5 separate regions of the Homo sapiens genome follow, and all the other regions are linked to region 3. Evidence: promoter capture Hi-C in 16 types of primary human blood cells and fetal thymus (Javierre and others, 2016). All regions are on one chromosome and are shown on one strand. Each heading gives the region's core, a stretch centred on a gene start or on the middle of the fragment in contact. The rest is flanking DNA. Distances are from core to core; before and after follow the strand shown. Region 1 overlaps AFF2 (ALF transcription elongation factor 2). Region 2 overlaps AFF2 (ALF transcription elongation factor 2). Region 3 holds the start of AFF2 (ALF transcription elongation factor 2). Region 4 has its middle 220 kb from the start of AFF2. Region 5 has its middle 170 kb from the start of AFF2.

The links. Contacts are between HindIII fragments. The CHiCAGO score rates a contact against its expected background, and 5 or more counts as called.
Region 1: a contact is called between a fragment that was not itself captured here and the fragment with the promoter of AFF2 in region 3, in 1 of 17 cell types (neutrophils). The highest score is 5.5, in neutrophils.
Region 2: a fragment that was not itself captured here is called in contact with the fragment with the promoter of AFF2 in region 3 in 1 of 17 cell types (neutrophils); the score reaches 6.3 in neutrophils.
Region 4: a contact is called between a fragment that was not itself captured here and the fragment with the promoter of AFF2 in region 3, in 1 of 17 cell types (activated CD4 T cells). The highest score is 6.4, in activated CD4 T cells.
Region 5: a contact is called between a fragment that was not itself captured here and the fragment with the promoter of AFF2 in region 3, in 3 of 17 cell types (non-activated CD4 T cells, fetal thymus and naive CD4 T cells). The highest score is 7.1, in non-activated CD4 T cells.

What each region holds. Positions count from the first base shown.
Region 1 is chrX:148,687,667-148,690,394 of GRCh38, forward strand. All of the region lies in intron 3 of AFF2 (ALF transcription elongation factor 2), which reads left to right. Among named protein-coding and RNA genes, the nearest start is that of AFF2, 190 kb to the left of the region's middle. The HindIII fragment of the contact is 2,679 bases long and covers 1-2,649 here.
Region 2 is chrX:148,745,597-148,748,296 of GRCh38, forward strand. All of the region lies in intron 3 of AFF2 (ALF transcription elongation factor 2), which reads left to right. Among named protein-coding and RNA genes, the nearest start is that of AFF2, 250 kb to the left of the region's middle. The HindIII fragment of the contact is 465 bases long and covers 1,139-1,603 here.
Region 3 is chrX:148,499,231-148,501,930 of GRCh38, forward strand. It overlaps AFF2 (ALF transcription elongation factor 2), which reads left to right and starts at 1,387. Exons shown (of 21, transcript NM_002025.4): 1 at 1,387-1,914. The coding sequence starts at 1,868. RefSeq lists an enhancer at 2,047-2,700. The HindIII fragment of the contact is 5,176 bases long and covers 1-2,700 here.
Region 4 is chrX:148,278,983-148,281,788 of GRCh38, forward strand. No RefSeq gene overlaps it. Among named protein-coding and RNA genes, the nearest start is that of AFF2, 220 kb to the right of the region's middle. The HindIII fragment of the contact is 2,577 bases long and covers 127-2,703 here.
Region 5 is chrX:148,333,485-148,336,184 of GRCh38, forward strand. No RefSeq gene overlaps it. Among named protein-coding and RNA genes, the nearest start is that of AFF2, 170 kb to the right of the region's middle. The HindIII fragment of the contact is 1,089 bases long and covers 758-1,846 here.

The DNA.
Region 1 (2,728 bases), core at 60-2,559, 190 kb after region 3:
TTATGCAATGTGGATTTTTTTTTGGTATGTGTAGTACAACCAAGGATGTCAGGAGGTGTGTCGCTTTGTTTAATACACATTGATGTTTAAACATTTAAATATTGCTAAAGAAAACCAGCTGGCAAATAATTTAGACGTATGTATGGTAAGTCATTCCTTTTTCCTCTTTCTCCGCTTATCCCCATCTCTTTCCCTTCTTTCTGTATTTGATAGCTACTATGCACTAGACATCAGATATGTATATGCAGCTGCCTTGTACACATCTCTATTTGGATGTTCCCATTGGGACCTCATATTCATAATAATTAACACTGAACAGCTGATGGCGCTACTATCTATGCCAGAAGCCTGGAATCACCTACAATCTCTCCCCCTCCCTCATGTTCTATAGCCTATCAATCACCGAATCCTACCTTCCTCATTTACTTTGAAACTGTAGTTCCAACACTTTGGCCATCACCTTACAACAGGTAAGCATCATGACTCAGCTGATTTCTGCTGCTGGTTTTCTTACCTCTGGCCCCACACTGCTGAACCCCTGCCTTTTCCACGTTGCAGCCAGACTGATCTCTTAGTGCCACCCATTGCCTAAAGAAAGAAGTCAAACCTCTGGAGATCCCCTTGTGACCTGGCCCTTGCTGCCCTTGCCAGCTTCTTCTAACTTACTGCCTTCCAGCTATATGAAGTGTGCCATCATACTTTTACCAGCTAATCTCAGTTTACTCTTGATATCCTTTGGGAAGACTTCTCAAAGCAGGTATTCCTCTTTTCTGTTCCTGCAGTTTTTGTAGTCCTTACGCCACTGAAACTCGTCTCACATTCTATTTTGATTGCCTGTTTACATATGTTACTCTCCCAATAGCCTGGAAACTCCTTGAGGGCAAGGAGTATAGTGAAATTAATTTATCATTGTATCCCTTGTACCTAGCACAGAACGTAGCACTTAAGTAGGGGCCTAATAAATATAGTCATGAATCACTTAACAACAGGGATGCGTTCTGAGAAGTGCATCATTAGACAATTTATCATTTTGTGAAATATGATGGAGTGCACTTACACAAACCTAGATGGCATAGCATACCACACACCTAGGTTGTATGGCATCCTATTGCTCCTAGTCTACAAACCTGTATGGCAAGCGACTATACTAAATACTATAGGCAACTGTAACACAATGGTAAGTATTTGTGTATCTAAACATATCTAAACATTGAAAAGGTACAGTAAAAATACATTATTATAATCTTATGAGGCCACCATGACATATGTGGTTGGTTGTTGACTGAAATGACTGTACTTGCTATAGTGTTCCTTGTTGTATTAGTTTGTTAGGTTGGCTATAACAAAGTATGTACTACAGCCTGTGTGGTTTAAGCAAAAGAAACACATTTTCTCCCAGCTCTGGAAGCTAGAACACTGAGACAAAGGTGTGGACAGTGTTGGTTTCTTCTGAGCCCCCTCTCCTTGGCTTGTAGGTTGCCATCTTCTTTCTGTGTCTTCACATGATCTTCCTGTGCAAGTCTGTGTCCTAATCTCTTCTTGTAAGGACATCATTTAGATTGTGTTAGGGCCCACTCTGATTACCTTGTTTTGCCTTTATCACCTTTCTTAAGGCCTTATGTCCCAAAACAGTGACATTCTGAGGCAGTGGGGGTTAGGATTTCAACATACAAATTTGGAAGGAGGCGACAAAACTCAGCCCATTGCACTTGCCCTTCAGATATTTTCAGACTAGTGCTTGATTGTCCTGAAGGCCTGTCTTACGAGATATGAATAGAAATGTTTGGAGTGGGATTTTCACAATGGCCTCCTGGAGTGTCTGTGGTTGGGAAGGTCCCAGGTTTTAAGTGTGTGTGGTCCCCAGGACCACTCCTGGGCAATGAGTTTCTCTTTTTCTAGTTCATGGATTCAACTGGTTTGATTGCTTAAGGAGCAATGATGATAGGCTGTGTTCAGGAAATCAGAGTTGAACAGATGTCTTTTGGTAATATTGGCTATACTGCCAGATCTGAGGGCTTTTCCTTTACTTTCAGTGCCCAGTGAATGATATTATAACTGTTTAGAATGTGACTATTATCAGAATGCAAACATGTTTGAAAAACTTTACCCTTAGCTTCTCTGAATTGACTTACTACTGTTAAGGCAAACTTGGATACTCAGAAAGTATTTGGCTGGCTTTGTTGCATTTTCACCTTCTTGATGAATGGAATCTATTAGTTATTTGCTTATTCAGAAACATGTGAATCATCTATAGCCGATTCTCTCTGTGTGTTTGACTGACTGACATTGTCTGCCATCTCTCAAGTATTCTTTCTGTATATAAAATCCTAGACTCCTGTGCAGTTTAAATATAAAATTAAAATGTTACCAAAAGACTCAGGTATTTTCAGCCTGGCCTGACAGCCCATCTTATGGAAGGCCTGTTTGAACTGATGGGCCCTTGATGTCAGCAGACCCAGACTTTTCAGGTCAGAGGAAAGAAAGTGTCTAGAATCATAGATCTTACAGAGAAAAGAGGCTACTTGCCTTCACTGCAGTTTGTAGTGAGGGACTGTTGTGATCAAATAATCAGGAAAGAGCATGCCTCAAGTTGTCAGAATGTGTAATCATTTTATGCCAAGTCAAGGATAACTCAGTAACTGAGCAAAAAGCTTTTTGTTTTCCAGTTAACTAGTTAGTTACAACCCGCTCTCTGGCAGTGTGGACCATAGAATCATAGAACCACAGA
Region 2 (2,700 bases), core at 121-2,620, 250 kb after region 3:
GGTTTTCCGTGCCTATGCCTTTATATGAATGTGATTATTGTTCTTGTCTCTTTAAATACTGAAGCCTGCAGTGCCTATTACAATTACATGTCCACTAAAGAACAAGTAGGCATCAGCTGACAATCATACTGCATTTTTATTATTATTATTATTGTTATTATTTTTAGACAGAGTCTGACTCTGTCGCCAACGCTGGGGTGTAGTGGTGCGATCTCGGTTCACTGCAACCTCTGCCTCCTGCGTTCAAGCAATTCTCCCACCTCAGCCTCCCGAGTAGCTGGGACTACAGGTGCCTGCCACCACGCCCGGCTAATTTATGTATTTTTAGTAGAGACAGGGTTTTGCCATGTTGGCCAGGCTGGTCTTGAACTCCTGACCTCAAGTGATCCACCCGCCTCAGCCTTCCTAAGTGCTGGGATTACAGTTGTGAGCCACCGCGCCCAGCCCGTAGTGCATTATTGAAAGGGAAAAACGCCTGCATAAGCAAGCACAGTGTAGCTTATAAATTAAAAAATAGTAGCCAAAGCAAAAAGAAGAAATATCAGTTGAAACAGCTACTTTATTAGTAATGTGTGATAGTGCTATAGGCAGACAAATAGCAATAGTCTTCTACTTACATATATTCTTAATTAATCTTGAAACCCTGACAGGCTTTTCACTGAAAATTCCATTTTGCTCCTTTGGATATCAGACCCTGTTTGTAAGATGCTATTTAGTTTTCTCCTAGCTACAGCCTAACCTTTTCTCTCTCAAGCCTTTTAAAAATGAATATTTCATAGCATAATTTGCCTTCCTTTGTAACTAGAGTGTTTTGGAAAGCTACAAATAAGAAAACACAGGTTGCAAAGCCAGGCAGAATCCCTCCTCTTACTTCTATTGTATCAATCAGAATGTTGGTTTTTCTAAAGGGATCAAAGCCATTTATCTGTTGGAGCACATTAAACCCCTGCCTAAAGGATTTAGGCTACTGTTTTCTCTTCCAGAAAGGAATTACCACAACCATACAAGTCAGCATAGTAAGAAGCTAAGAACATTTTGTCAATTCTCCCATTCATTCATTCATTCACTCATTCTACGTTTCCTGCAACTTCCTATCCTGGGCAGGAGACAGATAAGTAAATAAGCAGTGATGATACCAAGCTTTCTAATAGAGGGATGATGCAAGGAGGGGCTTACTGCCATCAGGCAAGTTTTCTCTAGTCAATTCCTTTCTGGCAGACTGAGGGCCAATTCACTGGTAGAGACTAGTTGGGATTGACATACCAATGAGGTAGAAACAGATTGTACCAAAGCATGGAAATGCAAAATGATCTGGCCCACTTTGGAAAGAAATTCAGCATGTGTAGTCATTGACATAGTGGCAGAGAGGTAGATGGACTGGGGACGGGGTTCCTAGATACAGAGAAGCATTAGATATTTGATTATTTCTTTAAGAAAAATACAAATAATTTTCAATGACCCCATGATTTCTACATGAAGCTCTCCTGACTCACACACCCAGAGACATTTATATCAATAAAGGTTATTGTTGGCAGTAACCAAGACTCCTCATGAACTCCTATTCACCCTTCAAGACCTAGCTTAAATAGCACTTTTGTAAGGAAGCTTCCCTTGATCCTGACTTCATGTCCCCTCTCAGAGCACTGCTCAAACATCATCTTTTGCGCTAGGCTGACTTGCCTATATTGCTCACCATTGTATCTCAAAGTTCAACATGGTGCCTGGCCCCTAGAAGGAGCTTGACAAATAATTTTTGAATGAACAAAAGAATATATATTATGCCCATTAAAACTCTATGAAGGATACAGGTACAACCTTGAGCACTCACGCAAAAAAAAATATTGTAGCTAAAAGAGTAAATGGAAGTAACACAATTTGAATCTTTATTATAAGACATTTAACTTAAAAGCACCAAGTTGAAAGTTTTTGGTTTTTGATTCGTCTTTCAAAGCCCAGAGTCACTTTCCAAATAATCTGCCTGGGACTGTTTTGTTGTTTACACATCTCTTTATTTTTTTTCCTGCTGTTATTTTCATTAACAACAAATATTTTAATATCATACTAAACTGAGCTACATTAGATCAACTCGAAATCTTTTAGACTCTCAAAAGCTGGGCATTACATATTCAAAACAGGACCTAATGTTTCAGAGCTTCATATTCTACTATAATTATATGGTTCAATGCAAGTGATTATATCTCTTCTTCAGTAACGGGCTGAAAAGTTTTGGTTTGCTGGTTCCCTCATAATTTACTGCCTAGGTATAATAGGCCAGTCTTGCGGAAAAAAAGATGATAAATGATGCTGGCTAGGAATCATAGATTTATTAAATTTCTATCAAACAGTGCAACAAAAAAAAATCTGCTTAAGTTAGAAATGGGCTCAAATTTTTTAATCAAAATTCATGAGTCCTGATGCTTGGTTCAGTAGGTCCAAGGAAGGTTTGAATTGAAGACTGATTAAAGAAAATAAAAGGCTTATTTGAAGTAATTTTTCAATGACGGCTTTTAATTGGATGTTAAATCAAATTCTTATCTGCCTTTCTGCAGATAGCACATTATATAAAATACAGTTAGCGGCACTACCACTGTAACGGATACACTGAATAACAATTGACTTCTCACTTTACACTGAGAGGGTAGAAGGGCTGTGTTTGTCAGCCTGTCAGAAATTAAGTATGTAAATTAATGCTTAAGTGTA
Region 3 (2,700 bases), core at 137-2,636:
AATCTGGGATCCCCCTCTAGGGGAAATATCAGATCTTGAGCATTTTAATGTCTTAGGGTCTCTGTTTCTTCAGGAAAAAAATGAAGTTAAAAGGTATTTGGATGATTTTGGTAATATGAGATAATACTGTAGAAGCATATTCAAATAGAAGGGAGAATGTCAGAGAAGTATGAGCCAGAGGGCTGCTGGGTGTTTTATGGAGAAACTGAGGCCCAGATAAGTGACTTGCTTGGAGTCACACACAGAGCTACCGGCACCCTGCTCTGTCAGGGCTCAGTCTGCTGTCCTTCCCAAGAGAGTTCTAGCCTTAGGATTTGAAAAATGTGCCAATACTATTCCCTCTGTATAACGACACGAAGAAGGCAAATTACATGCCTAGGACTCCAGAATGCTCATGTCCTGAAATGCCAGAAAGCGGTCCCGCCCCTTCCCACAGACCTTTCTCTGCACGGAGGCCAGGGAACCTTTCCCTCCAGGGAATTGGCTAAAGGGATCCACTCCTTCCTGGATCAGAGGTGGAGGTTGAAGGGAGTAGGAGGCTCGGTTAAACCCTCCACGTGCAGAAAGAGAATTTCAGGCCAGAAGGGAGACGGGCAGCCGGTGCGTGGGATACTGGGCACACACCCAGTGGTTTTCCCATTTCTCAGAGGAGGAGCTAGCAGAAGTCTTTTGCTCAAGGCACCTGGTGACCGTGCGAGGAAAGTGACAGTGGAACCCAGTTTAACAGTATCCTAACCCCGAACTCAAGGACCACGCAAGGGCAGTCATTTGTTCCTATCCTTGCTGCCCACTGAATCCAGGGCCTATAGCTCGCTGACCTACTAGGTGCGCGCCTAAAGGCATGCCTGGAGGGCCTGGGTGCGGGCACGTGGAGCCACGGGGCTGGTGAAGGTGACCGCCTTCTCCTTCCTGGACCCGCGTGCTACGCACTACAGACCTGAGGGATGCTCAGGCCCGCAAAGTTTGCTCCACTACTCGGGGGCTCAAGGAGCTGTGCTTGAGGTGGCAGGGGGCGACCTTCAACCCCACGGCTGTTTGTGCTGTCTTTTCTAGTTCAAAACTAATTCCCAGTGGTGGGGGTGGGCTGGGCTTCAGAGAGGGGTCCCATTCCCGAAGCCCGCGTCCTGGTCCCGCCAGCCCACCTCCTGTATCCCTGCCACGGCCCCTGCGTCCCGGGTCCGGGTCCGGGTCCTCAGCTCTGTGGCCGCTCCCACTAGCTGATTTTGACAGTGGGGGGTGGGAGAGGGTTCCCGAAAGGCAGGGGCGGGCGCGGCGAGCCCCTGCCAGATCCGGGGATGATAACGTGCCTGCTCCATGTCGCGGCTTCTAGCTGTCCAGGCTCCGCCCCCTGTGAGTGTGTAAGTGTGTGATGCTGCCGCGGCCGCCGCCGCCGCCTGTGCAGCCGCTGCCGCCGCCGCCGCCGCCGCCGCCGCCGCCGCCGCCGCCGCCGCCGCTGCCGCCCCGGCTGCCGCGCCGCGCCGCTGCCTCTGCCCCGGCCGCCCCCGCCGCCGCTGCCGCCGCCGGCCCGCAGCCAGCCAGGCGGGCGGCCCAGCCCGCCTGAGCCCGCAGCGGCTGCCGCCGCAGCGTCGGGTCGCTGGGTGCGCGGGCTACCGCGGACCGAGCGGACCCGAGTGGGCGACCAGGCGCTTGCCCGCCCAGTGCCACTGCCGCCGCTTCCTCGCCGGAGCACAGGACCAGACACCTCCAGCGCCCGCTGCTGCTGCCGATGCGGCCCGGACACTTTTAGCTGGGCGGGAGGGCTGGAGAGCCGGGGGCCGCCGAGAACCGCCAGCGAGCTGTGCCGAGAGCCGCGCCGACCCGCTGCGATCAGGGACAGGCGCCCGCCCGCCGCCGCCGCCTGGCCGCTATGGATCTATTCGACTTTTTCAGAGACTGGGACTTGGAGCAGCAGTGGTAGGTGTTGATTTTTGCCTTCTCCTTTGATGAGCGAGTCTCCTGGCGAAGTCTGAGGTTTTCGCCTTTGTTAAGAGGAGCTGAAGCTGTCGTGGGGGGCGCCCCGGACTCCCTCCCACTTGCTCTCAGCCACCTCTGGCCCCGGCCGCGCTGACTCCTAGGTCGGATGCCGGGGTGGGGGGAGGTGCGGGAAGAGGGAGGGATGCGGACCCGAAAGCGTCGCTTTGCGCTCCAAGTCTAAAGAGTTGCATTTGGCTCACATCGAATTCGGTGCCGCCCGAGGGCTGAACCGCACGACCTCCCAGGAGCTTTTCTCTCGGAGCGGCTTGCCGGTCTGGCCTCCTTGAGCCCCGGATGCCGCCCGCCCGAAATGTCTCAACTTTCCAGGTGCCCAACGCCCGCGGCGGGCCATGGGGGAAAGGCAACGGCCAGGTGCGGCCAGCAGCCCTCTGCTTCCTTGGTGGCCACCGCCCCCGCTGCCGCCACCTCCATCCCTGCGCTGCGCGGCGCGCACACCTTTCCTTCTGCCGACTCAGCCCAAGTTCCCTGCACTCCCGGGTGGAGCAGCGGCTTTGGGGGCCACCACTCAGGGGACCTTGGTTCGAGGCCGACTTCGGCGCTTGGCTTTCAAGACTGAGGGTTTTCGGAGTTGGCCCCCCAAATCCGCAGCTCTGATGTCAATGCACATTTAATTACCGGATGGACCCCCTTCGGCCTCCCACTGGGAGGCAGCCGTAGTTTTTTGTAAGGGACCTCCAGCTCAGATTCAAAGGTTGAGTCAGCTCT
Region 4 (2,806 bases), core at 165-2,664, 220 kb before region 3:
ATATCCAGCATTTATAAGGAACTTAAATTTGCAAGAGAAAAACCAACAGCCTCATTAAAAAGTGGGCAAAGGACATGAACACTTCTAAAGAAGACATACACGTGGCTAAGTCATATAAAAAAAAAAAGCTTAGCATCACTTATCATTAGAGAAATGCAAATCCAAACCACAATGTGATATCGTTTCACACCAGTCAGAATGGCTAGTGTTAAAAAGTCAAAAAATAACAGCTGCTGGTGAGGTTGTGGAGAAAAGGGAACACTTACACACAGTTTTGGGGAGTGTAAATTAGTTCTACCATTGTGGAAAGCAGTATGGCGATTGCTCAAAGAACTAAAAGCAGAACTACCATTTGACTCAGCAATCCTATTATTGAGTATATACCCAAAGGAATATAAATAAATCTATTATAAAGACACACACACAGGTATGTTCACTGCAGCACTATTCACAATAGCAAACACGTGGAGTCAACCTAAATGCCCATCAATGATAGACTGGATAAAGAAAATGTGGTACCCATATGCCGTGGCATACTATGCAGCCATAAAAAACAACAGGATCATGTCCTTTGCAGGGACATGGATGAAGCTGGAGGCCATTATGCTTAGTAAACTAACACAGGAACAGAAAACCAAATATTGCATATTCTCACTTATAAGCGGGAGCTAAATGACGAGAACACATGGACACAGAGAAAGGAAGAACATACACTGGGGCCTATTGGAAGTTGGAGTGTGGGAGGAGGGAGTGGATCAGAAAAACTAATATGTACTAGGCCTAATACCTCGATGATGAAATAATCTGTGCGACAAACCCCCATGACACACATTTACCTATGTAACAAACCTGTGCATGTACCCCTGAACTTAAAATTAGCATATATGTAAATGTGTGTGTATGTGAAATGGGGTATCCATCTCCTCAAGTATTTATCCTTTGTGTTACAATCTATACTTTTATTTTAAAATGTACAATTAAATTAGCATTGACAATAGTCACCCTGTTGTGCTATCAGGTAGTAGATCTTATTATTTCCTAGCTTGAAAAACCATCTCTCTGCCTGTTTCTAGTAAAAGACACCACTACCCATCAGTTGCTGAAACCCCAAACCTGGGAGTCATCTCAGATTCCTACCTGTCTTTCACTCCCTGCTCTACTTTCAATAACATCTCCTATTGTCTCTTCCTCCAAAACATATCCTAAATTGATCAATTCTCAACCCCTCTAATATTACCAACCTCATTCAAGCCATTATCGTCTCTTGAATCATAGTCTAGCAAATAGTTACCTAACTGGTCTCCCTGTTTATATTCTTGATCTCATACCTACAGTCTATTCTCCAGAGGGTAAGCAGAATGATTTTAAAGCAGAATCCGATCATTTCCCTCCCCTCCTTAAAACCCTCCAATGGTTCTGTTGTATTTAGAATGAAAGAAGAAAATCTTTTGCATAGCCTGCAAGGCTCTGCATAATTCAGCCGCAAACAAACCTCTCTGATCATGTGTTCCATCACTCATGTCCCTCATCTGTGGTCTTTCAGCTACAGTGGCCTTGCTGTTTCTGCCCCATACCATGATTCTTCCTACATTAAGGCCTTAAAATGTGCTGTTTCCTCTGCCTGCAATACTCTGTTTTCAGATCTTTCCATGGCTGGCTCTTTGCTGTCATTCAGGTCTCAGTGCAAATATCACCTCCTTGCCTAATCACCCAATCTTAAATAGAAGATACTGCCCCATCAATGGTCACTCATAACCTGCTCTACCACCTACCCAGTTTTTTTTTCTTCATAATACTTAGAAGTTGAAATTTTCTTGTTTATTTCTTTATTTGTTCATTATTTATCTTCCACTATCTGAATGTTTGCTCCATTATGACAGAGTATTTTTTCTGTTTTTGTTCAGTCATGTATCCCCTGAGCACCTAGGACCAATGTCCAGCATGTAGTATCCACTCAAAAAATATTTATTAAGCAATACACTTTCTAAAGAAAGATGCCACATTTAGTTTGCTTCATCATTTGAAACATAGCTCTTTTGTGCAGCTTTTTTTTTTTTGCTAGAGTTTCTAATTGCCTTTTCTTCCCTCCGTCTCCCCCTCCCCTCCTTCCTTCCTTTCTTCTTTCCTGTCTCTGACAGAAGAGGCACTTGCTACTATTTCATCACTAAGAACCTCAAAGTTCTTACACATACAGTTTGTGGGATAGATTTATTTTCTTCTTAAAGGTATTTTTCAAGCATTCCTCTAACTTCATGTCCAGATTGAATCAATTACCTTCTATCATTCTGGGATACATTTTTATTTCCCACTTTAAAAGTACGTCCTTGAATGTTTTTCCCAAAAAAAAATGAAAATGAAAATTTCCAAGTCTTTTAATGCAGAAAATGGCTTTACTTTGCCCTCTCAGTTGATTGTTTTTTCTAGAATAAAATTACAGGTTTTAATTTATTTCCCATTAGAACTTTAAAGACATTGTCCTTTACAGTTTTAATAAGGAGAGTAACATCAATCTGATCCCACTCCTTTAGAGATGACTGATTTAATTGGTTTTCTTTTATATCAGGAATCTTTTCATTTGTTCGCTTATTCCGCAAATGTTTATGGTGTATCTACTATATGTCAGGTAGTATTTTAGTAACTAGATTTATAGAAATGAATAAAACATTGTTCATTGTTTTGTAGGCTAAAATCCCTGCCTCATGAAGCTTATTTTCTAGTGGGTAAAGAGAATAAAAAGTATAAGTATATAAAATTTGTGGTATATAAGATGGTGATAAATCCTCGGTAGACAAATAAAGCATGGAGG
Region 5 (2,700 bases), core at 52-2,551, 170 kb before region 3:
CAGGAAGGTGGAGTATCTGAGGACATTACTATAGAGGCCATGAGCATTCTCACAAGGATCTCCTTGCCAACCTCTGTTGCTATCTTGGGAACAAAGGATGTAGGGATGGGTGGTGAAACTCTGGAACACTCAGCATTTACCTAAAGGGACTAAGTTAACCTAGAAGAGACTATTTTTGATGGAAGGAGACTGCATACCCACTAATTAGAAGATTTTAAGATACTCCTCATCACCATTATTTATTGGAATAGGGACTTCAGATAGAGATAAGAACACTTATCAGAGTTTCTTGACCAATCATTGACACTCTGGGTAAGATAATCCTTTGTTATGCAGGATTGTCCTGGGCATTGCAAGATGTTTAGCAGCATCTAAGCCTTCTACCCATTAGATGCCAGTAGTCACTCTACCCTCCATTCTGGAAGTCACAAAAACCTCTCCCTTCAAGAGTAAAATTGCCCCCAGCCAAGAAACATTTCATTTTATGCATTCTATACACATCTGAGGACAGAGGGCTCATTTTTCCACCCCTCTCTCTACCTACATGTTCTAGCTCAGGACTCAAATATCCTACATGATGTGAGACAAGCAAACTTCCTCTCCTGTGTGACTTCTTCCTCCTGTTGAACAATGCAAAGAGCCTGAAGGCCATGCCCTTTCCTGCATAATACATGCCCTTCTTTGTATTCAGCTTTGTTTCTTATACTAAAATTACATCCTGTTTCTTTGCTCTCAGAGCCCCACAGGCTGTGTCTCAAGCTTCCTGTGTTCTGATATGATTGTATTACCTGTTCTGAGATGTGCTTTCTGCCACTAGTGTGATTTTAATTCATCCTTCCAGGTTTCCTTTGCCCTCCTGCATTTTTCCCCCTCCTACACTGCCTCCCATAGCGGCTACTCTTACCTCAGCACTCCTCTTTATTTCTTCTTTTTTGAGTTGGGTCCATCTCTCTTGGCTCTACTCAGCCCTTTTAATCTTGGTTTATTTTCCAATGGATTCTGGGAGGTGCCCATCCCCTACCTGCTCCACCTCCACCCTGCTGACCTCCTCTGTAGAATCTGATGAGCCATTGCTACTGAATGAGGAAAGGCTTAACCTTCCTTTCCCCACCCCATATTCCTTTCCCTGGCCCCTCTTTTTCCTCCATAGCTTCTGTCTCTGTTTTTATTCTTTGTTTCTTGTCCACCGCAAGGTAAAATTCAGCCTCTTCCTTATGTTCCCCATCTCACCCTTGCCCACATTTGTGACATGTCTGTGGTCTTCCCTTTGTCATGTGAAGAACGGCAGTGGGATAGAGAGCCTAGTGAAGAGGATGCACGCAGTGCCGGGAGTCAGTCATTCAGACAGGGACATAGGTCTTGGAACTTATACATTTCTCAGCTGTGTAAAATATGGGTAATAAGAGTACCTAATCCATAGGGGCACTGAAGGATTCAATGAGTTTGCAGTGTACAACGTTTAGTACATTCTAAACTGTATGCCCTGATATCTAGTGGATATGCAGTGAATGTTTGTCAAATGGCTAAAATTTTGCATGATATGCAGCCCAAGGCCTGGCACATAGTGAATGCTCAAAGTAAAAATGTTCTTCACCTGAACTGAATCAAACTCTCTTTTCGATATTAGATTTGATGGTCCGGACCTCAAAGCCAAACCTTACTTTCTTCATAAGTCACAGTCTTTTCTTCTTCAGGTTGTAACTTCTCCTATGTCTATAATTTGATTCCTCAAGAAAGCAAAGATGCTACCTTAACCTACTACACAGAATCCTTCCCAAACTATTCTTACTGACTCTTCTCCTAGTGTACCCTACAAAGTAAACTCATTATTTTTCTGCTGATTTGAAGCTTATATCAAACTTTACGGGAATTTAATCACGACAAATTTGTCCCTAGGGTACATTGCCAATTGGATTAGTAATCAGGATCCCCTGCACATAATCTCTGTGCAGCTTTTGAAGCAGATCCACATGCCAAATCTTCCCTTGGAGGACTCTCCCTGCTCTCCTCCTCCTCAATGTGGAAAAAATTTCTTATCTTTTCTTCTTTGTCAGCTTCTCTTCTGCCTGTATCTCTCATGGAGGGCTAAGGAGAGATGCCACTGACGTTAACTGCCTCCTTTTTACCTCCTCCTTGCTCCCCATTATTTTATACCTCTGTCCTCCACCCTGCTGCCATTCTTCAGACTTTTTTCTTTTCCCTCTGATTATTAAACTGAATTTAATCCTGCTGGATAAATTGAGCGGGTGGTATTAGATCCGTTGCCAGATGAGGAAAGTCAGAGTGGCACATTACCACCATTGTTCAAGTGATAGAATAGCACAGCACTGCTGGAATCCAGATTAGACATGAAGGTCCCGCCTCTGAGCCTGTGGATTTTTCACTTTGTCAAAACCATATTGACTTCAAACAGAGTGTCAGTGGACATTACCAATCTCTACAAAATCTAAGATATGTTGTGTTTTTATCGTTAAAGGTTGTTACCCATAATGAAGAAAGGATTCATATTAGTCTAATACTTCTATAGAGCAGTGTTCAAAATCATTAGTGTTTTATCTCCATATTTGTCATTTGTTATTTCAAAAATTATTTATGTACATAAACAGGAAACAGTAACTACAATTTTATAGCACTTCAAATTTACAAAGTCATTTTATAACCCATTGTTTCATTTGCATCCTCAAAACAATCTTGCAAAGA